Regions from separate parts of the Homo sapiens genome. Here region 1 is linked to region 2. The links are contacts of gene promoters, found by promoter capture Hi-C in human tissues and cell types (Jung and others, 2019). All regions are on one chromosome and are shown on one strand. The core of a region is centred on a gene start or on the middle of the fragment in contact, and the rest is flanking DNA. Distances in the headings are between cores, read along the strand shown. Region 1 overlaps NFATC1 (nuclear factor of activated T cells 1). Region 2 holds the start of ADNP2 (ADNP homeobox 2).

Region 1 (6,490 bases), core at 3,411-5,910, 630 kb before region 2:
CTCACTGTCGACATTGTAAACCTGAGGGAAGCGTGTTCTCGCGCTCACTGTCGACGTTGTAAACCTGAGGGAAGCGTGTTCTCACGCTCACCGTCGACGTAAACCTGAGGGAAGCGTGTTCTCTCACTGTCAACTTTGCAAGGGAAGCGTGTTCTCGCGCTCACTGTCGACGTTGTAAACCTGAGGGAAGCGTGTTCTCACACTCACTGTCGACGTTGCAAGGGAAGCGTGTTCTCACACTCACTGTCGACATTGTGAGGGAAGTGTATTCTCACGCTGTCGACATAAACCTGAGGGAAGCGTGTTCTCACGCTCACTGTTGACGTAAACCTGAGGGAAGTGTGTTCTCACACTCACTGTCAACGTTGTAAACCTGAGGGAAGCGTGTTCTCACACTCACTGTCGACGTTGTGAGGGAAGCGTGTTCTCACGCTCACTGTCGACATTGTAAACCTGAGGGAAGCGTGTTCTCACGCTCACTGTCGACGTTGCGAGGGAAGCGTTTTCACACTGTCGACGTAAACCTGAGGGAAGCGTGTTCTCACGCTCGCTGTCAACGTAAACCTGAGGGAAGCGTGTTCTCACGCTCACTGTCGACGTTGTAAACCTGAGGGAAGCGTGTTCTCACGCTCGCTGTCAACGTAAACCTGAGGGAAGCGTGTTCTCACGCTCACTGTCGACGTAAACCTGAGGGAAGCGTGTTCTCACGCTCGCTGTCGACGTAAACCTGAGGGAAGCGTGTTCTCACGCTCACTGTCGACGTTGTAAACCTGAGGGAAGTGTGTTCTCACACTCACTCGACGTGAGGGAAGCGTGTTCTCACGCTCACTGTCGACATTGTAAACCTGAGGGAAGCATGTTCTCACACTCACTGTCGACGTTGTAAACCTGAGGGAAGCGTGTTCTCACGCTCACCGTCGACGTTGTAAACCTGAGGGAAGTGTGTTCTCACGCTCACCGTCGACGTTGTAAACCTGAGGGAAGCGTGTTCTCACGCTCACTGTCAACGTTGTAAACCTGAGGGAAGCGTGTTCTCACGTTCACTGTCAACGTTGTGAGGGAAGGGTGTTTTCACGCTCACTGTCGACGTTGCGAGGGAAGCGTGTTCTCACGCTCACCGTCGACGTTGTAAACCCGAGGGAAGCGTGTTCTCACGCTCACTGTCAACGTTGTGAGGGAAGGGTGTTTTCACGCTCACTGTCGACGTTGCGATGGAAGCGTGTTCTCATGCTCACCGTCGACACTGTAAACCTGAGTGAAGTGTGTTCTCACGCTCACTGTCGACGTTGCGAGGGAAGCGTGTTCTCATGCTCACTGTCGACGTTGTGAGGGAAGCGTGTTCTCACGCTCACTGTCAACGTTGTAAACCTGAGGGAAAGGAATTCTCTCTCACATGCTGTGGGGTGCTGGCCCCACCAGGCCTCCCAGGAGACCTCCCCAAAAGTCAGAAGAAGGGCTCCAATTGAAAGGGAGGTCCGAGATGTGCTCGCCAAAACCACCCCCAGCAAGACGCCAGGCATCCTAGCCACCCGACGCTCAGGCCGTGCGTGTCCTCAGAGCGTGTTTTAAAGCAGGAGGGATTTGGGGTGGAAGATTGCTCCTGCAGAAATCAGAGATGAGGGGAGTAAATTAGGGAACCAGCGTCAGGATCCAGACTTCTGTGAAAGAGCCACAGGGCTCAGCATCCGACGGGCGCACCTGGGGCTGGGCGAGTCTGGCTCCAGAAGGGGGGTGGGGCCGGGAGCCTGAGATGGGATGAGAGGGCGGGAAGGGGCTTGTTGAGAAATCTAAGGGCCACGGGCCACCAAAAACAAACCAGGAGGTGTGAGTCAGTGGGGAGGCTGGGTGCCAGGAAGCCTGCGCTCTGGGACATGCGTGGGGCAAGAGGGGCGCCCTGAGCTTGGCGACGCCAGCCGCGCGCCTGGGAGGGATCCGCCTGTCCACGTGCAGCCGCCTCCGGGCGGCGTCGGCCATGCTGCTGCCCCACCGTGGCTCTGTGGCTCCAGCCGGAATGGCAAAGCCTGGCTCCACAGCTGCCTGGGAGCGTGAGTCACGCGCCCCACAGAACACGGCGGGCAGCGCGGGCGAGGATTGGCGAAAGCCGACCGATGTGTTTTGGCTTGTGTGGTCTGTGGGAGCGTCCTTTGTCATCAGCCTAATTGGGCAACAGATCCCACCTCACTGTGCCCTGGAGCAGCACGGGGCCACCACACAGCCTGAGGCCCCACTTGCGCTTCCCCTCGCTGCCGTGCTGTCCTGGCCCCGTCGCTGCCACCTGAGACCCCCATCAAGTACCTGAGCTCTGCGTCTGTTTTCACGCTTCTGTATGTGTAGGAAGCCCCCCACCGATGTTGCTCGGGGTCGACGTGATAAACCTGAGGGAAAGGGAATTCTCTCACCCCGACCGACACACAGGATGGGTGTGGGGGCAAAGTGAGATCATGAACAAAAGCATCTGGGCCCGTCCTGGACACATGGCCAGGGTTAGCCACGGTTGTCAGCCTCCACGGAGCTGCAGTTTCAGCCTGGAGGTCTGTGGCGTGCATGGTTGGAATACTCACCAGACTCACGTGGTCGTGACTCCGGAAGATCATGCCTTCCTGGAAACCTTGGAACGCGCTTCAGCAGAAACTCCAGTGAAGAGTCGGTGAGAGAGCACAAATTCCCAAAGGCGGATGGAGTTCGGAAGGACCCTTCTCTGTCTCCCACATCAGGCGGTGCCTGGTTGGTGCAGATTTACCCCATGGTGGGCCGTGGATCCCTCACCTGCTCTGGAAACTGATCTTGGCTCTGAACAAGGAGAAATGATGCCTCTCAGCCTCGAGGGATGGGTGATAAGGCAGCTTCATCCGCTGTTTTCTTTCATTGTTTGAGAAAAGTCATGCCCCGGAGGTGTCATTCCTGGTTGTTTATGTTGATGGCAAAACTTGGACTTTCTTGTCATACAGCAAACAGAAGACAATCTGATCTTTGTTTTCCAGGGGTTTAGACTTTGAACAAAACCTCTTTTGTCCAGTACTGTAGTGCATCCCTGGTAGAGTAATTCAAGCTGAACACAAGGTTGCATAAAAATGTGGGCATGGGGGAGCAGGGAACTGTCTTGGGATCATTCTTTGCTGTGCACAGCAGCTGCAGCCTGCAGGCAGCTCAGCGTTAGATCTCCCCACCCCCAATGCCACCTGGGGACCAGATGTTACTGTTGGCGGAAGAAGGGGGTCCGGGGCACTGTCTCAGTCTTTGGGGCTTCCATGGTGGAGCACTACCGGCCGTACTGTTGGTGGAAGAAGGGAGTCCGGGGCACTGTCTCAGTCTTCGGGGCTTCCATAGTGGAGCACCACCGGCCGTACTGTTGGCAGAAGAAGGGGGTCCGGGGCACTGTCTCAGTCTTTGGGGCTTCCATAGTGGAGCACCACCGGCTGGGCACCTTGTAAACAACAGACATTGATTTCTCACAGCTCTGGGGGCTGGAAGTCCGAGGTTGGGACTGGTACGGTCGGGTTCTGGTGAGGACCATTCCAAGTTGCAGACAGCCAAAATCCTGCCATATCCTCACATGGCAGGACAGGCGATTTGTCTCTCCCTCCCTGTGGGACGGCAGTCCCGTTGGATCAGGGCCCCACCCTGATGACATTGTTTAACCCCCAGTTACCTCCTGCAAACACCACTCTCAAGTAGAGTCACGCGGACGGGGGTTAGGGCTTCAACATGAGGTTGAGGGGACACGAGTCCGTCCATAGCAGTGACCCCACTTGTCTAAAGCCACAGGGCTGAGCCTGCCCCCTGCCCCCCTGCCTGCCCATCCCCAGGCCCCCGTTCTTGCCCCCAGGCCCCCCCCCGCCCACCCCCAGGTGCTCCCTGTGCTGCAGACAGAGCCCCCGAGGAGCCAGGAGCTGCCGGGCACCAACCACACAGGAAGCCAACAGGTGGGGCAGGCTTGTGCCTGCCACCGTGTTGCTCATGCCGATTTTTATTCTCAGATCTTGTCACCTCTGTCTTGTAGCAGAAGGGGGCCCTGATCTGGGAGCCGTGAAGACCCCAGCTGTCCCCCGGGAGCCAGGCCACACCAAGGCAGCCAAGGGGACTACGTTGGGAGGAGGATGTGGTCCGGGCCATTAAGAGCTGTGATGAGCCCCCAGGTCTGCCCTGGGTGAGGGGCTCTGCCTGCCCTGGGGCTGCATAGACCCGGCTGGGGCTTTAGAACAGGAACCGTTCGAGGGGCTGCGGTGGGTGAAGCCCACTCATGTCCTGGCTCCTGTTACCGGGTAGGGATGGCAGCCCATTTTCCAGGCTTGGGGGTTCTTTAAGAGGCCAGGATTGTGCCGAATGCTCTTTGGCTGACGATGGCCGTGGCGGGGGCTTTGGGAGGGGAGGTCCTGGAGGAGAGGCTTGCCCAGCTCACTGCCTGCGTCTGTGGCCAGAATTGGCACCTGCATGGGGCCTGGAAACGTCGTGCTCACCTGGGGCGGAAGCCCCCCTCCAGGACTCAGCTCCCAACGTCACTGCTACCGAGGCAGAGACTCTGCAGCGGCATCAGAGAGAAGCTGGGCCCCAGAACAGCACCAGGCATGGGACGGGCCCTCCGTGCCTTCCACGGAGGATGCAAGCGTGAGGCCTGGGTCTGCGGGGACGGTTTACCTGTCAGCTCTGCACGCCGCTGACCACTGCGCGCCGCCTCCACAGACAGTCCCCATGGACGCTGGGGCTGCCGTGGACGATGGGGCAGCCATCATGGACAACGGGACTGCCATGGACACCGCAGCCAGCCTGCTCTGTGGGAATATGCTTTGTAAAGCCAGCCGGCCCTGAGGCCAGCACTCGCCTTCCACACTCTGCTCTTTGTAACGAGTTTCATAAACTCACCCTCAGGTGATTGGTGTTTCTGTTGCACCGTTGCTTAGCCTGAAAATGAGCTGCCCTTTTTCTGAGCCCATCCTTTCGCCACCTCTACCCCAGCCCCTCATGGCTGATATCAGGAGGTAGCCAGAGGCCGCCTGGTGCAGGGTGAGCCCGGAACACGGGCAACAGCTTGAACTGGGCCTGTGCGGCCCCCTCCACGGGCGACAGCGTGAACTGGGCCTGTGCGGCCCCCCTCCACGGGTGAGACTCCCAGGCGCTCTTGCAGACGCTCACTCACTTTCTCACTGATAGGATGCGTCTTACGAGGCTCTGATTTACAGAGCAGGCATCCATCTTCTCTGAAACCCACACAAAAAGCACAGTTTAGGCCAAGCCCAGGTGCAGTATGTTCGTGTGTTTAAGCTTCTTAGATGCTGGGGTGTGGAAGCAGCCGTGTGGCTTTCCTTTGCTTGTGAAGGTGAGTTTGCACTTTCCAGCTTCTCTCTGTATTGGGAAGGCTGCAGCTCTCCAGGACATGACTTAGCAGAGAACATCCCGCTGCATCCTCATAGGCCAGCGGGTCAGGCGGGGCCATTCTGAAACGTCCCCTGTGGGTGCCGGGTGCCTCGCGCATCCCTGCCGTCCACCGCCCTTTGTCCCTGGCTGTGCTTCGCGGCAGTGCCCCTTAGGGCAAGGACAGGGAGATGGGGCAGTCGCCTGGGGAAGGCCCGGTCCCGGTGGGAGGCAGCCTCAGAGCAGCTGGGATGGCACAAGACGCCGCTGCCAGGGCTGAGAAACCATCCGGCCAACCCCAGACTTGAGCCAGACTTCATGGGCAAGGCTGGGAGAAGCCGCGTGGAGACCCCAGCCCAGGGAGGGGCACTGTGGCAGGAACAGGGCCCGCACCTGCAGGGTCAGCCCAGGCCACCTTCCAAGCACGGTGACCACGTCGCAGCTCATGCTGCCAGCTCCGGGCCAAGGGACCTGGACTGGCTCTCCAGACTCACAAGATGCCGTCGTGGGTGGGGCACGTGCGGTGATCCCAGGTTTCAAGTAGCTGCCCCCAGCTCCCTGCAAATAGCTCTGGGCGGAAGAGAAGCAGTGGGCAGGCACACGAGTTTATTCCTGAGAGGAGCGTGTTGCCACAGCCTCTGTGGACTGGAGCCCCAGGCTTCAGAAAGAGAGGGAGCGCCTGCCTGTGGGTGGGGGGACAGGAGCTGCCAACCTGGCGGGGTCCCAGCGAAGCGTCCACTGGGCCTTCTGCTTGCCCCTGGGGGTGGTGGATGCATCAGTGCTGGGCCTGCTCCGAACCCGCAGGGCAAGCAGCCCGTGCGTCCCGATGCCACTGCCGGCCGCCAGCATCCTGGGGAGGTGGGTCGCGTGTCCCAGAGCCCTGTGCCCCTCGCCACCACCATCCTAGGTCAGGACTTCCCCAGGAAGAATCCAAGTGGCTGGAGAGATGCGGGGGTTAATGCCGGTACCACCGCGGTTTTAAACGGGGCCGTGTCTGAGCCGTGTTCTTGACGTTCTCCAGCCAGCAGCAGCAGACGCCACCCGGTTGCCCCAGCCCCAGCGGCTCTCGGGCATAGCCGGCCTTGGCCCGTGGGGCGGCTGATTTACAGGACAGCTGTGCACGGGGCCTCTAGTGTCCGCC
Region 2 (6,639 bases), core at 1,290-3,789:
TTGTGTGTCGTGCTCACCAGCTGGGCTTGATTCCTGGGGGATTTTGAGTGATTGCAGCAAGAAGGGAAGGACAGTCAGGTTCACTCTCTAAAAGGGCTGACTGGGGAAAGTACCTGAGGCACCAAGCTGGAGGTAAGGTGGTGGGAGCCTGTGCAGGTGTTACAGGCAGGAGATGACCTGAATGCAGGTAGTGATAGTGCGGCTGCAGATGAGGGAAGAGATCTGACGAATATTTGGGATATAAAATTGGAAAACTGGAGATGGGGAACACACTGCTTGCTGTAGGAGAGGCTGTTGAGGAGAGAATGATGGGCTCAGATTTGAACGTTTTGAATCTGAGTTGCCTGTGGGACTCTGAAGTGGAGCTGCCCCCTTTGGCAGCCAGAAAAATAAAACTGAAACGTAGGAAAGAGATGGAGATACTGGTTTGGAATTGACATAACAAGGTTTGAATCTGTGGTCGAAATTAACAAGGGAGAAAATGCAGAAAAAAATGAAAGGCGTGGGAGTTCCAATACCCAGCACGGTGCCTGGCACACAGGAAGCGAGTGGCGCATATGTGCTGCACCGTGAAGGAAAAAGTCAGCAGGATCCCAGAGAACACCGCGTTCAAGGATGGGCCGGGAAGAGATGCAGGCGAAGATGAGGAAACAGTTCGTGAATATGGAGATGAAAGAGCCCGTCTGGGGAGTAGTGGGTGTGGGGGGGGGCGGCTTTGTGGGGGGAGGTCTGTAGATTAGGAAACAGTTCCCGAGTTTGGAGATTAAAGAGCCCGTTTGAGGAGTAGTGGTGGTGGGGCGGCTTTGTTGCGGGAGGTCTGTAGGAAAGGGGGATTGGTCTGTAGTAACAAATGGAAGATAGATACAGAAAGACGAGGCCTAAAATCTGTTTTGGGCTCAGCAATTAGGAGGGCGCTGGTGACCAAGGCGTTTCTGCAGAGTGGTGAGGGTGGGGGCGAGAGGCGTGCAGGGGGCTGAGGAGACAGACACAGGGACTGCTGTTTTGAGAAATGTGATAAAATGAGAGGTCACTAGAGGATCAATGGGAGACTGCAGGCTTTAACTACACTTTTCATCCCACCCATAATTTTGCAAGGAAGATATATAGGGACATCACACCCATTTACCACTGTAACTCAAAGTAAAATCTTAACTTGTCAGCAAACATAAAGGGCAAACTCTACTTCAATTATGACTTGTATTCATGTAGGAAAAAAGCAAATTTTGGTCAGGTCATATCGGCCCACCATTTAACACAGTTTTAAAACGAATATGGACATTAATTTAGTGCCTATTATGTGTTTAGTCACTGGGCTAAACTGAGCAGAAGGCTCCCATTGAGAGGGAAAAGCTGAAATTATGGACGAGCGGATGGTGACAAGGAGGCTCTGGAGAGGGCGGTGGGCGGAAGGCCCAGCCTGGGCACGGCCTCTGCCCCGCGGTGGCTGGAGTGGGCCTCAGGGCTGGAGGCTGGCGGCGGGTTGCAGGGGCTCGGCGCTCTGGAAGGAGACGTGGCCTTGTGCTGAAAGGGGCACGTGTCCTGCAGACGGCTTCGCCAAGAAGGAACTGCCTGGAACAGCCACTGAGGGCGCGGCTGAGTTAGGGTCAGGGGAAGGAACACTGGAGGGGAGTTAGGGTCAGAGTCAGGGTTAGTGCTAGGTGAGGTTCAGGTGCAGGGTCAGAATTAGGGTTAAGGTTAGGGGCACTGGGGGAGGCGCCTGCGCTGCCCTCGTGGTTACTCCCACGTGCTCTGGGGCACGAGGGCGTCCGCCAGAGGCCTGGGGACTCCACGGAACGAAGACCTAGAGCCATTTTGAAAGCCCTACGCCATGTTTCCACTAATTTTGTGGAATAAATTATTATTGCTACACAATTGATAAACACCTGTGCAAAAATGAACTTTTAGGTTAAGAGTTTATACAAATGTATGCAATTAACCCTCTCCCCACACAACTTGTAGTAGATCTAAAAATCAGAATTCTCAAGAGAAGGTGTGATCACTTTCCCACAGGAATGATGAAGTCAGGAGACCCCAGCTAGTCGGTTCACCAGGATATGCCAATCATGGCACACTTGTCCCAGTTCTGGGAGCCAAAGTTTTGTCTTCCAATGGCAAGGCAGCATTATCACAGTTGGGCTCCCATTGGCTCTGAGATGTGGGCGGGGTCACCACTCCTGGAGCTGCCACTAGCTCCACCCCATTCCATGCAAATGAAGTCAAAGCTGTGGTGAGTCCACGTGATTAGTCACATGGTTGATGACACACTCTCCCCACCCCTTTAGTGACGTCATTGCCCACTCAAACTCTCACGAGAGTTTGCACAGATGTGGAAAGGAGCTGGCAGGGCAGTTCCCTGGGACAGAAGGGAGTCAGGGGGTCCAACAGGGGCCCCCCACTGCCACCCCAGAGCCTCCAGTCCATCTTTAGCCAGGGGCCCCGGGGGGCCTGTGGGAAGTGCCAGGGGCCCCCAAGCACACTCTGCTCTCATTGGCTGGCTGCGCCTACATGCAAATGAGGGCCAACGTCACTTCCTGAGGCCAATCGAGCGCCATTTTCTCTTTCTGGCTGCGCGGGAGGAGGGGACCAGTCGCGCTGGGGGTGGGCGCGCGCTGAGGCGGGGGTCCCGCCGCGCGGGGCGGAGGCGCGGGCGGGCGCAGGCGGCCCCACGGGACGCGGCTGCGCTCGGCGGAAGACGCGGCAGCCCTGCGAGAGGCAGCAGCGGAGACGCGGTGCTCCTCGGGCGCCAAGCGGTAGGTACGGCCCGGCCCGGCGCGGGCCCGCGCGGCGACGCCCCCTGCCCCGGTCCTGGCCCCCGCCCCAGTCTGGTCCCCTCCGAGCCCCGCCCCCGCCGGTACCCAGCCCACACCCACGCCCGCCGCCTGCCCTCGCGCCGCCCGTGGCCGCCTCGGGAATCCCGGGACGTTCTCAGGGCGCGGGTTCGCGGCCCGAACGGCGCCCGTCGACCCCCGACGCGCCCGCGGCCCGCCCCGCCCGCCGCCGGTCACGTGGGAGCGGGGGCCGCCCCGGGAGGGCGGAGAAGGGGATGGGGACCTGAGGGGAGAGTAGGAATAGGGGAAAGACGAGGACGGGGACCGAGGGAGAGAGGGGGGCTGGTGAAGGGAGCGAGGAGTAGAGGGAGAGGGAACGGGGATGGAGAAGAAGAGAGGGGGCAAGGAGCTGTGGCGACCCCTGTAAGGACTCCAGAAACGCCCCGCCCGCTGGCCCGCCCGCCGCATCCCCGAGACCGGGTTCTCCTGGAAGCTTCTCTCTGGAGGAGCCTTGAGTGACGGCAGATGTAGGTCAGGAGCTGACGGTGACACCTAAATCTGCCCAGGTTTTTTTTTCCCTAGAAAGGTTTGAAGAACAGCTGATAACGGGGCCCTGTTTCTTCATCGTTGAGCTTTTGATGCGAATATCAATAATTGATATACAGATGTTGACTTTAACATTACTTTTCATCTGCCGTTGCTGGTTGCATTGAAATAGATTCCGTTTACAAAATTTCTACTACAGTTGACTTTGGAATGTTAATTTTAACTGCCCTTTTAAATACTGTACAGATGCAGAATGAGAAATAATTAGATATTTTAAGTAGTTTATTTGAACAGAAGACTTGCCTGCGTGCTTAAAACTTACTCTATTTGCACGGGTAATCACTGCCTCTTGGGATCTTGAGGAATATACTGGCTGTGGAGGAGTGGGGTGGGGGAGGAGAAACTGGTAAGCAGGTAACTGACAATGCAGATTGGCAAGTGGGGCAGCAGTTTGTAGAGTACTGTGGGCATCTGCCACGCAGAGCCTTTATCAAAAGAGGGGGTTTGGAGTCTGGGTACCATTTTTGGGGGTGAGGAGCATTAGTGGGAGAGAGGACCACATGTAAAAAGAGTTGTGTAAAGTACATGTTCAGCTGTATTTGGAAGTCGGTAATGTATGTGTAACTTATTTAAAGATGTTCTTGGAGAGTTGGCCATGTATGAGTGTGTATTAATATTTCGGTTAAATTTCGGTTGGAGTTAGGACTTCACTGCGAAGACAGCATTGAGCCCGTCGTCCTTAAACATGAAGTGACAGATGTGTGTTAAGAAAGGAAGTACAAGAGTGAAGATGAGACAAGAGGTTGTCCTACCGGCCCTCTAGTTGAGGGGAGGAACAGTGAGGGTTAGGACATGTCTGAAAGGAGTTGATCACTGTTTATGGGGGAAGATGACAGCTATGCTAAGATTTTTAGCTGAAGAGATTCTGGGATTTGGGAGACACGTTTTTAATTTGAACCCAAGTTTGCAATATGCTGTTGGTTAATTTATGATTGCCCTCATAAGTTCACCAATAGCATATTGCAAACTTGGTTTCTGCCCTGCCCTTCATCCTCTGGCTATCCTAGACCTGTTAGGGCAATGTGTTACATAGGTGGAAACCGGTATCTCCCAGTGATTTGAACCCAGATCTGCTGAATATATGATCCAAGTATTCTGTGTTTTTAAAGTTGCTTTTTAAAAAGTCCTGTATTCCAATAGTTGGGACATTTCATTTAGTTTTTTGGAGTTAATTAATAGCAAACTCAGTGCTTATGTGCTGTTTTGCATGTATTAACTCATTTATCCTCATAACTACTCTGTGAATTAGGTCATACTCGCCCTGTTTTACAGAAGAGCCAGCTGAGGCCTGGAGAGAGTAAGTGATTTCCTGAAGATTACACAGCTCATAAATGGTGGAGCTGATGTAAACCCGGGCACACAACTCCAGAATCCTTTTTGGTGACCATCGTTTTGTGCGATTTCACAGGAACTAAAAAAAAGTTCTGTGGCTTAAAAAGTATTGTTTATTACTGTATTACCTGAATGACATTTTTTTTTTTTTTTTTTGAGACGGAGTTTTGCCCTGTCGCCCAGGCTGGAGTGCAGTGGTGTGATCTCGGCTCACTGCAACCTCTGTCTCCCGGGTTCAAGCGATTCTCCTGCCTCAGCGTCCCGAGTAGGACCCAGCCAATTTTTTGGTAATTTTTAGTAGAGACAGGGTTTCACCATATTGGTCAGGCTGGTCTCCAACTCCTGACCTCAGGTGATCTGCCCGCCTTAGCCTTCCAAAGTGCTGGGATTACAGGTGTGAGCCGTTGCACCCGGCCAACATTTTCTTTTAGAATGTATTTTTTTTTCTATAATAGAATATCCTTACGAGATCATTATACTAAAAAATCCCCAGAGAAGTCCTTTATGTACCCTTTTGGGAAATAATATTTTCTTGTGCATATCAGTGGAATTTTATGGTAGTTCCATGCCTACCCTAAACATTAGGAATTGAGATTTATTTTGAATTGAAATTGATAGGTTGGTGCATGATGTGGAAATAGTTGGCCGCCCCGGTTAGCCTGCTGTTTTCTAATGGTGAAAATACAGATTTTACTGAGCTCTAAGATTCTATGGAGAACAGTATCTATAGAGGATCTATAAATATGAAAACATTGAACTATTTCATAGTTAATTCATCCACTGGGCATTTTACATGGAATATTTTATCTTAGGATTGATAAATTATGCTATAAGAATGGATCTAAGAATGAATAAATTGTGGTAGCTTAGAATGGATAAATTATGGGTAAAAGTCAGCTTCCCATCCCCAAAGTGGTTGGCAACAGTTATGAAACCTGTAATTTACTTGCATTTTATTTTTTATCCTTTGTTGGTTTCCCTAAAGCAGTTAGGAAACTGCTAAACAAAAAAAAAAAGGAGGGGGGAACTTTTCCCCCTCCTTTTTTTAAATGAAAAGGTATTTGTGTGCTTGTGTTTTGTTTTGTTTAGAAGGGCCACAATAACGATGAAGGAATGGAAGCACTTTCATTTGAGAATAAAAAGTTCCTATTTTTCAAATTCAAGGGAAAAAAATAAAAAAGTGACAACTCCTTGGCCCTAGTCCCAAGCCTTGAACAAGTAACCACAGACCCCTGCCCAATCTCTGAGAGCCTCATTTTAGTAACCCCTTTCTGAGGTTCATGTATGTACAACCATGCTTACATGAATCAGCCAATCCCCAATCACTCTGCTTTTAAAAGTCCACCAGTCTTTGTATCCCAGGCTTCTCAAAACTCTGTGATAAGATCAGCTCTGGCTGTGTGAGTTGAGATTTTCTTGGAAGCAGTAAATTTAGCTTCCCTGTTTCAGATACATATGGATGATGGTCCCTACTTTAGACAACACTGTTTGTCAGCCAGCTTTTGGAGAAGAACCCCAGAGGATAGAGAGGATAGTGGAACTTTAAGGAGGAAATGAAATCAAGTCTGATAGAGTCCCTGGAAAGCAGCTAACAAAATTTTCGTTGAGTTTTGCTCTGACCAAAGAAGCTGGACTGGGCCAGAAAGTGACCTTGAGCTTAGTGTTTAGAAATGCATAATGAGGTTATGGCAGCTCTTGTGTGAGAGTGTAAGCTTTTGAAGGCTAGAACCCAAATCAGTGCATTTTATTAAAGAAAATTTTTAAACTTAAAATTTTATAAAGAAAATTTTTAAATTTTTATCCTCCCAGTTCTACAATGCTAATGATCCTTAAATCTCTCCTTTTGCTGAGACCAGGATACATTTTTCACATAGATAACTTTGAAAAGAAATTTATCCGCTTCAAAACAGCTTCTCAAAAACTTGGTGTTTGC

Evidence for each region. The method cuts DNA at HindIII sites, captures the fragments that hold promoters and counts their contacts. A contact is called where the count stands out against the background at its distance.
Region 1: a contact is called between a fragment that was not itself captured here and the fragment with the promoter of ADNP2 in region 2, in 2 of the 25 tissues and cell types used here (lymphoblastoid cells and mesendoderm cells).

What each region holds. Positions count from the first base shown.
Region 1 is chr18:79,474,291-79,480,780 of GRCh38, forward strand. The region is part of intron 8 of NFATC1 (nuclear factor of activated T cells 1); the gene reads left to right. LOC107985162 (a long non-coding RNA gene) reads right to left here. Exons shown (of 2, transcript XR_001753518.2): 1 at 1-6,490. Among named protein-coding and RNA genes, the nearest start is that of NFATC1, 82 kb to the left of the region's middle. The HindIII fragment of the contact is 5,843 bases long and covers 1,740-6,490 here.
Region 2 is chr18:80,106,723-80,113,361 of GRCh38, forward strand. ADNP2 (ADNP homeobox 2) reads left to right here and starts at 2,540. Exons shown (of 4, transcript NM_014913.4): 1 at 2,540-2,750. RefSeq lists enhancers at 963-1,464, 2,291-2,792 and silencers at 2,602-2,761, 2,962-3,061. The HindIII fragment of the contact is 8,526 bases long and covers 1-4,839 here.